3 separate regions of the Homo sapiens genome follow, and regions 2 and 3 are each linked to region 1. Evidence: promoter capture Hi-C in 16 types of primary human blood cells and fetal thymus (Javierre and others, 2016). All regions are on one chromosome and are shown on one strand. Each heading gives the region's core, a stretch centred on a gene start or on the middle of the fragment in contact. The rest is flanking DNA. Distances are from core to core; before and after follow the strand shown. Region 1 holds the start of EFCAB12 (EF-hand calcium binding domain 12). Region 2 has its middle 19 kb from the start of SNORA7B. Region 3 overlaps IFT122 (intraflagellar transport 122).

The links. The method cuts DNA at HindIII sites, captures the fragments that hold promoters and counts their contacts. A CHiCAGO score of 5 or more calls a contact.
Region 2: a contact is called between a fragment that was not itself captured here and the fragment with the promoter of EFCAB12 in region 1, in 1 of 17 cell types (endothelial precursors). The highest score is 8.2, in endothelial precursors.
Region 3: a fragment that was not itself captured here is called in contact with the fragment with the promoter of EFCAB12 in region 1 in 1 of 17 cell types (M2 macrophages); the score reaches 5.7 in M2 macrophages.

What each region holds. Positions count from the first base shown.
Region 1 is chr3:129,427,256-129,429,955 of GRCh38, forward strand. EFCAB12 (EF-hand calcium binding domain 12) reads right to left here and starts at 1,381. Exons shown (of 9, transcript NM_207307.3): 1 at 1,185-1,381. The coding sequence starts at 1,233. RefSeq lists a silencer at 1,518-1,567. The HindIII fragment of the contact is 3,479 bases long and covers 712-2,700 here.
Region 2 is chr3:129,377,251-129,379,950 of GRCh38, forward strand. No RefSeq gene overlaps it. Among named protein-coding and RNA genes, the nearest start is that of SNORA7B, 19 kb to the right of the region's middle. The HindIII fragment of the contact is 2,110 bases long and covers 228-2,337 here.
Region 3 is chr3:129,489,343-129,492,042 of GRCh38, forward strand. All of the region lies in intron 16 of IFT122 (intraflagellar transport 122), which reads left to right. Among named protein-coding and RNA genes, the nearest start is that of RHO, 38 kb to the right of the region's middle. RefSeq lists silencers at 336-544, 951-1,020 and an enhancer at 944-1,238. The HindIII fragment of the contact is 8,041 bases long and covers 1-2,700 here.

The DNA.
Region 1 (2,700 bases), core at 131-2,630:
CTGGGATTACAGGCGTGAGATACTGTGCCCAGCTACTGACAAGGATCTTAAACTCAACCAACCAAGACTGGATTTGTCTTTGTGCCCCTTCCCCCACTAACTGGGTCCTCTGAGTACGTTCTCTTATCTCTGTGGAAGACATCTCCATCTACCAGGTCCCCCAGCTGCCAACTTGAGAACCATCTTTATTTGCCTCTTCTGTGTTTCCTGACCAACCAGCCCCCAAGTCCCGTAGTTCCCTCTAGCCTGGGCCTTCTCCCTCACCTCCCAGCATCTTTAGCTTGGGCATTTGACCAGAGCCCTGACCTGTGTGCCTGGGAAAGGTGGCCAGCCTCTCCAGCTCTCCCTGTTTCTCCACTGGGCATTAATGTGTTCAGTGCTGGAGAAGCGGCATGGAGAAGACCTTCAGTCTTCAAGCTTTATAGCCCCCAGCTCTCATCTCCCCACACCAACATTCTGAGTCTGCCAACTCAGTCTCAGGTCTTTTCTGACTGCTCCCAATCCAGTCCTGCCACTCCCAGTGGCCTCTCCATCTCCTGGCTTGCAGTATCTTTTATGATCTTGTCCCTTCTGACCTCTCTCACCTCATTTCCAGAGACACCAGACCTCTTGGGTCATGCTGTTTCCTTGCCCGAAATGCTTTTCCTTCCCCTTTTGGCTTGGAGAACTCCTTTTTATCCTTTAAGCTCCAGTGTAAAGATCTTTTCCAAAAGCTTGGAACTGTTCCTCCCCATCCCATACCCTCAGCACACCTTTTACTCCTGGGTGTCATCCCTGGGCCCGGCATTTACCCCTTCTTATTCTGTAATTATCCATTTATCTCTGTCCTTTACCCGTGAAGCTGCATTGCTTTGCCAAGAACTTGGTCCCCAGCACATTACTGCCAAAACCTTGAAGACTGACGTCTTCTCCATGCCTCTCCTCCAGTACTGAATACATTAATGTCCTGCAGAGAAACAGGGCGAGCTGGAGGGCTCCCGTCACATGGGTCGGGCCTCTGGTTCCTCCAACTAGGCTCAGATAGAAATCTCAGAAATGTACATGACCTGCCCCCGACTCCATGGCAACCCTTCACCCAGAGGGGGTCGGCACAATATCTGTGGCTGAGTTTTTGCCCTCACCCCACTTTCACGCGTCCTTAGGGCGCTGAGCGCTCCCTGCAGACGCTTCTTCCCGGGGCTTACCGAGCAGCGACAAGAACAGACTGTGGTACGCTTCATAGTCGTCGTCCATGGTCGTGGTGCTGGGAGGGGGTGCTGAAGGGCGTGTGTGAATGTGTGTCGATGTGGGCTTGCTTGCGTAGGGGTACCGGGGTATCAGATAAACCGTAACTCCAAGTCGTGCGAAAGGCGCTCAGCTCAGACTGCAGAAGCAACCTGTTGCCGTGGCTACGGACGCCCCGCGCCAATTGGCTGAGCGCTGTCACGTGTTAAGAGCGAGCCCGCCCTGCCGAGCGCCTGCTGGCCCCACCTCGTTTTCGTCCAATTCTGGGAGGGGCAGCGAGCAAATCCACGCCCCGCCCAGTTCTGGGCTTGGTGAAAGGCGGGATTTCTTTGTTCGGCCCAGTAGTCCCTGAATCCAGTGTAGAAAGTCTCCGGTTTTCCCGTGAAATGTGGGATCTTCCGCAGGTCTCCATATCTCTAGGCCTCAGTTTTCTCATAGGAAAAATAGGCCCTGCCTCCTCCAGAGGGTTAGGAAGAACCAAAGTGAGCTGTGGCCAGATAGAGGTGTTGGGTATGTTCTGCCCCGCTTATGGCAGGGTGCCATGGTTTGGAGTTACAGAACCTGAGGACCAGAGAATAATAATAAACCCTTGAAATGTGCATCAACTGATAAGCAAAATGAGGTATATCCATAGGATGGCCATAAGAAGGAATGAAGTACATGCTACAATATGGATAAACCTTCAAAACAGTATGCTAAGCAAGAAGCTAGACACAAAAGGCCACGTGCTGTATGATTCCATTTATGTGAAATGTTCAGCATAGACGAACCCACAGACACGGAAAGTAGATGAATGGTTGCTAGGGGATGGGGTGAGTAATTGAAGTGACTGCTAACAGGTGGAGAGATTCTTTTTGGAGTGGAAAAAAGAAATGGAAACTTCTGGAATTAGTGATGATGGCTGCACACTGTAAATGTACTAAACCACTGAACTGTACACTTTAAAATGGTTAAATGGTGGCTTTTAGCTCAATTTTTAAAAAGTTAAAGAGAAACACCTAAGCCCTTATTCCTTTGCTGAGACAAGCTATCTTTGTGACGCTTGCAAACAGATTGTTGCCATGGGCCACATTCACACAGCACTCTTGCAAGCCAGGTACCATTTTAGCACTACATGTCTGAACTTCATAATTACCATCATTGTGTGAGGTAGACACCACTATCCCATTTTTAAAAGACAAGTTAACAGGTACAGAGGTCAGGCAACCTCACCTGCAAGAAACAGGAAAAGCCAGGCCTAGAGCCTGAGCAACCTGGCTGTGTCCTGAGCTCCCCTGGTGCAGAGCTCGCCTCCTGCATTCACACGGGCCCACACTCCCCATGGAGATGCTGGGGGAAGGTATGTGACCACCAGCCCTACCACAAAGCCACACCTGATGCCCTGAGCTTGGTGAGCTCGCCCCACCCTCCAGGCCCAGCTGGGCCCAAGGTTTCAGAGGCCCCTCTCCACCCTCTTTGGGTGTCTTGTCCCTACTC
Region 2 (2,700 bases), core at 33-2,532, 50 kb before region 1:
ATCCACCCACCTCGGCCTCCCAAAGTGCTGGGACTACAGGTGTCAGCCACAGTGCCCAGCCAAGCCCAGGTTCTTTTCATGTAGATGAAGCCTTCAGGTAGCAAACTTCAGAGAGAATAGATGGCAAATGTCTCTTGTCTGACCTTAAAAAGTGTCAGCCTCTCCAGAAAAGACCTAGTAAGAGAAGGAGATTCTCTACAGAATGCAAATTTTCCCACACAAGAGAAAGCTTTGCAGGCCCATTTCAAAATATGTCAACAAAATATATTTTGGGGTAAAATACTTTGATTTCCTTAAGGGCCTACTGTTTCATGATGCTGTCATGAAAAAAAACTAGTTCCAACCATCATGGGCATAAGGAGACCCACAATGGGTAGCTCCTCTCTGTAGGCAGGTGGTCCTGTGGAGTGTTCAGCTCTCAGCAGAGAGGAGGCCCTGGGAGGGTGGCTCCTCTCTGCAGGCAGTTCATCTCATTGTCTCTGCAGCTCTCAGTAGATTGGAGCCCCTGGAGAGGGTAGCTCCACTCTCTACTGGTCGTCCTGACATCTGCCGAACTCCTAGCAGAGAGGAAGCCCTGGAGTGGGTTGCTCCTCTCTGAAGCTGGTAGTCCCAACATCTCTGCAGGCCTGTGAAGCTCTCAGCAGAAAGGGTAGCTCTTCTCTGCAGCTGGTCATCCCATAGTCTGCTTAGCTCTGGCTGAACCTGGGGTTTTTATGGGCCTCAGAGGGGAAAAAGTGTATGCTGATTGGTACTTGGGTGGGCCTGGAAAAGGCACCACAAGTTCCCAGTCCAGTCCATGAGACTGGCAGCCTTGGTTCCCAGCCTTCAGACCCTCCCTGGCCTGAAGGTGGGGCCTCACTGGGGACCGGCCCCCTTCCATCCAGGAATCTGTCTGCCTCCTGCTGCCTTCATGACACCTGAGCTTGGCCCCAACATTCCTCCAAGATTGGAGTGGGCAACAACAGCAGGGAGAAGCCAGGCAATGGGAGCAGGCACTGCTGAGCCTGCAAGGGGAAGGGATGCTTCCTGGCCCTCAAGAGTGCAGGGGTGCCTGAGTCTGCAGCCATGGTTTAGGCAGCTACAGCTGTGCCTGGGAGGGCAGGGATCCTGCTTGCTCCTGGCCTCCCAAGAGCACAGGGAGGCTCAGACCTGCAGCCACAAGTTGGGCAGCTACAGCCCTGCCCCGGAGGGCAGGGCTCCTGCCTGCTCTGTGGAGTGGGAGGCCCAGGTCTGCAACCCAATGGTTTGGGCAGCTGCAGTGGCACCTGGGGAGCTCCCACCCCAACTTGGAAGGGCTTCATGGAGTGTGCAACCCCAGCCACGTCTCCCTGCTGCAGCTGGGAGCTACAGTTGAACAGTTGGCTACATTTCATTGTCCAAAACACAGTGATCTGGAGCAGCCACTGCCATCAATGGTATATCAGAATCATGTTGAAATACGGTGTTCTATTGCTGTTACTGGAAGGAGGGCCTTGGGTGTAAGTTGTCTAGGTTCTTGGTGTTTTGAACAAAAAACTGGACAAAATGCACTAAGTAACAAAGGAATGAAACACAGGATCGAAGTACCAAAATCAGGGATTTATAAAAGAGAGAAGGTACGCCACAGGGTGGGACTGGGCCCGAGCAGCTCAAGGGCCCAGTTACAAAGTTTTCTGGGTTTCAAGCACTCCTTTTGAGGTTCCTATCAGTTACCCCTTATATAGTTGAAGGATTTGGTCTGTGGCTAAGTAAACACTGAGGTGAATGGCACCCTATGCAGATGAAGGGATGGTCCCTGCTTGGCCTGTGGCCACTCCAAGCCACTCTCCCTTTTTGTCTAAGCCATGGTGGAAGGGGGAGGGTTGTAGAAAGAGTAACCTTTGACCCTTTGCTACTAAGGCATGGGGAGCTGGGTTTTTCCTTTCGGTTTAGCTTCAGGAAGTTGGCATTAACTGGCCTTAGGGCCCCTGCCTCCAGACCCAGGTGTTTCCCTTTTGATCCAGCTTTGGGAAGTCAGCACAAATTGGCCTCAGATTCCCTGCTTCCCCCCAGACCTTGGTGTTTTTCCTTGATTCAGCATGAATTGGCCTTAAGTTCCTTGCCTCCAGACTGTACTATCCTGCCTCATTGCTACAGAGTCTGTTTTGTCAGTCTTGAGACCCCAGTTTTCTTGTTAATACTGGTCTATTGTGTCTAAACTCTAAAGGGAGGAGGGTAAAATGAGGCAAGTCTGACCCCTTATGCCCATGATGGTTGGAACTAGTTTTTTAGGGGTTTTTTGGAATTCCCCTTCTCCAAGGGGAGGGGTTCATTCAATGGAGGCACAGAGGGCTTAGAGTTTTACTTTTGGTTTACACAAGCTTAAAGAGAAAAAACTTGCCTTCAATACTAAAACTAAAAGATGGGACTGGAAATTTCAAAGATAAAGACCCCAAACAGAGAAAACAGCACTTCCACATCCACATTTGGGAACCATTAGCACAGAGGTCCCAGGTGACTGCTCTTTCCTGCCCAGGAAGCCAGGAGAGATGCAGGCCCCCGAAGCACACTGGCTGGCCTAAAACAAGGGCAAGGCCTTTCCTTGTTGAAGATGTCCCGGCCAAACTCAGACTCGTTCTTGTTCCCGCATGACGCAGGAGAATAGGGTCTGGAGGGAGGGAACCTAAGGCCGATTCATGCTGACTTCCTAGAACTGAATCAAAAGGAAAACCTCACCTCTTC
Region 3 (2,700 bases), core at 51-2,550, 62 kb after region 1:
GTTCTGAAATGGGGGTGGTGAGAATGCCCGCTGCAGTCATGAGGCTTAACTGAGATGTTGTAAAGGGGAATTTAAATCAGGGATGGTTGTGCAGATGCTAGCCATTACTAAACAAGGGAAGTGATCGTTGTGTAACAATGATCTAGATTATATTTTTAGATGTCCTCAGTGTAGGAAAGTGGAGATGGAGGAGGCTGTAAGAATTCAGAGGAGGGGCCAGGCGCGGTGGCTCACGCCTGTAAATCCTAGCACTTTGGGAGGCCGAGGTGTGCGGATCACAAGGTCAGGAGATCGAGACCATCCTGGCTAACACGGTGAAACCCCGTCTCTACTAAAAATACAAAAAATTAGCCGGGCATGGTGGCAGGCGCCTGTAGTCCCAGCTACTCCGGAGGCTGAGGCAGGAGAATGGCGTGAACCTGGGAGGCGGAGCGTGCAGTGAGCCGAGATGGTGCCACTGCACTCCAGCCTGGGCCATAGAGCAAGACTCTGACTTAAAAAAAAAAAAAAAAAAGAATTCAGAGGAGGGAGGAGGCATCTCTATGGAGGGAGCTTCCCTCTCCTGCCCCACCCAGAAATGCCAGCAGGGAGGGAGACGACAAATCCCTAGAATAGAAAGGATTGTAAAAAGCCACAAGGTTTAATATGAGTGTTTACTGATATTTTTATAAATATATATATTTTTATATATTTGTTTAAATATTGAGACGGGGACTCACTGTGTTGCCCAGGCAGGTCTTGAACTCCTGGGCTCAAGCAGTCTTCTTGCCTCAGCCTCCCAAAGTGCTGGGATTACAGGTATAAACCACCACACCCAGCCAGATTTACTATAGTTGAAAAGTAAGTGTATGTGGTATATATCTATTGTGTACAACATGCTGTTTTGAAAAAGCCACATGATATTGAAGATAGGCTGGATGTTACTATTTCATCTAAATCCCGAGTACCCCACCTCTTTACTCTGTGCCAGGCACTCAGGCTCACCAGCTTGGATATAGTGGTTCCTAGAGATGGACAGCCATCCCCACTAGATGGCAGAGAAGAGCTGCTGAGCTCCCGCCAGACCCTGAGCAGAGCTGCAGGTTCCTCCCTATTCCCAGGCTTCCCTCTGCTGAGCTCATTCAGGGGCCTTGTGACTCTGACCAGGCACCCTGACGCTGCAAAATGTGTCAGGTTGAAGGAACTCGGAAACAGATTTATTAATGGGCAAATCCTAGACACTAGCACAGCTGAGCTACAGCTAGAAAGACCCTTGAGAGGGTGTCAGTAGCAGGCCCCTTTCCACAAAGAAGATGGTTGGAGCCCAGAAGCAGAGAAGTAGGCTCAGAGCGAGGACTCAGACCTCGAATGCTCCTTTCCCTCTTGGCCACTGTGCTGGGCTTTGCAGGGTTGCCCTCTCAAGGCGCTTTAAGGAAACCCAGATCTAGAGGGTGATGTGTAAGACCTACAGCTTGGGACACAGGTAGTCTTAGCCCTGTGTTCCTTGGCCCATGTGATGCCCGCATTGCCCTTTTCTACGAATTCCTCTTCACAAACACTTGTTTGCCAGGTTCTGACTCTGATGCCTCCCTTAACGCTGCCTCCCACCCCTGCTCATGCTCAGACCATTCATCCGTGTTCTCCAGGCATGTGGTTCGTAGTTGGAGAGCTCTTAGCTCTGGGAGGTGTCATGATCTGTTTAATTGACCAGCTTTCCCTGTTAGAATGTGGACCTCTGAATTGTGGAGGGGGACAGGGGCCGAGACATGTTTCTCCCTGGGTCCTCAGTCTCTTGACAGGAAGCCTGGTCCTGTGGGATGAAAAGATAAAGTTGCATTGTGGTCACCTGCAAGGCAGGCCGGGGACTTGCTCATCTCCCGAGGTCTTTTCAGGAGGGAGGATGCCATGCTGCTGAGCAGAGGCTGCAAGTGGTCAGGATTGCTCTGCGTGTTCAGTTCAAAGGGCTCTGGAGCTGCTGCCTCCTCTAGGCACAGGTCAGCCCATTTTGAATGGGGCAATAAATGGTGACAGCAAAGCCACCTGAAAGCAGCCTGACCTGGTGGCTTGTGCTCCTCCAAACCCTGGGCAGAATCTGAAAGCAGCAAAACTAGCTTAGCTAACACCAGTCTGCTTGTTCCTCAGAAACTTCTAGAGGTCCATGAGTTAAAGTCTCTGGCTTTACTGTGAGTTCAAGGCAAGGGCTGCAATTTTAGGGTTTACATAAAGAGTTTGCCTTCCACAGACTTGGTGGGATTCATTCCCTACCCCTCCACCTTCTTCCAGAATCTGTCTTTATACCCTCTCAGCTTTCCCCTCCTCTGCTCCCTCTGTGGTACCAGGGGCTCTGGGTCCCCTGTGTCTGTGGCACCACTGGGTAGGCATAGCTGTCCCCTGCATTCTACCCATGTTGCCAAGATGTATAGGCAGTCTCTCATCAGTCCATGCATCTCATCCTCTCCTGCTGTGATGCTGCGTGACCCCCCAGAGGGTCAGACCGGCTTGTTCTTCTTTGGGTCTAGAGTCTCCCAAGGAGGCACCGCCACAGACTGTGGCATCACGGTTTTGTTTTACCTGATCTCAAAATGACTGATGCAACTGGGATGTCTTTGCTGTTCTTTACATGGTCCAATCCCATGGATAAAGCCATGCCTCGCTGGGTGGTATAACCTCCTGCACGCACGATGATTAATCTGTGCTTGCTCCCTTCCTCTCCTCTGTGGC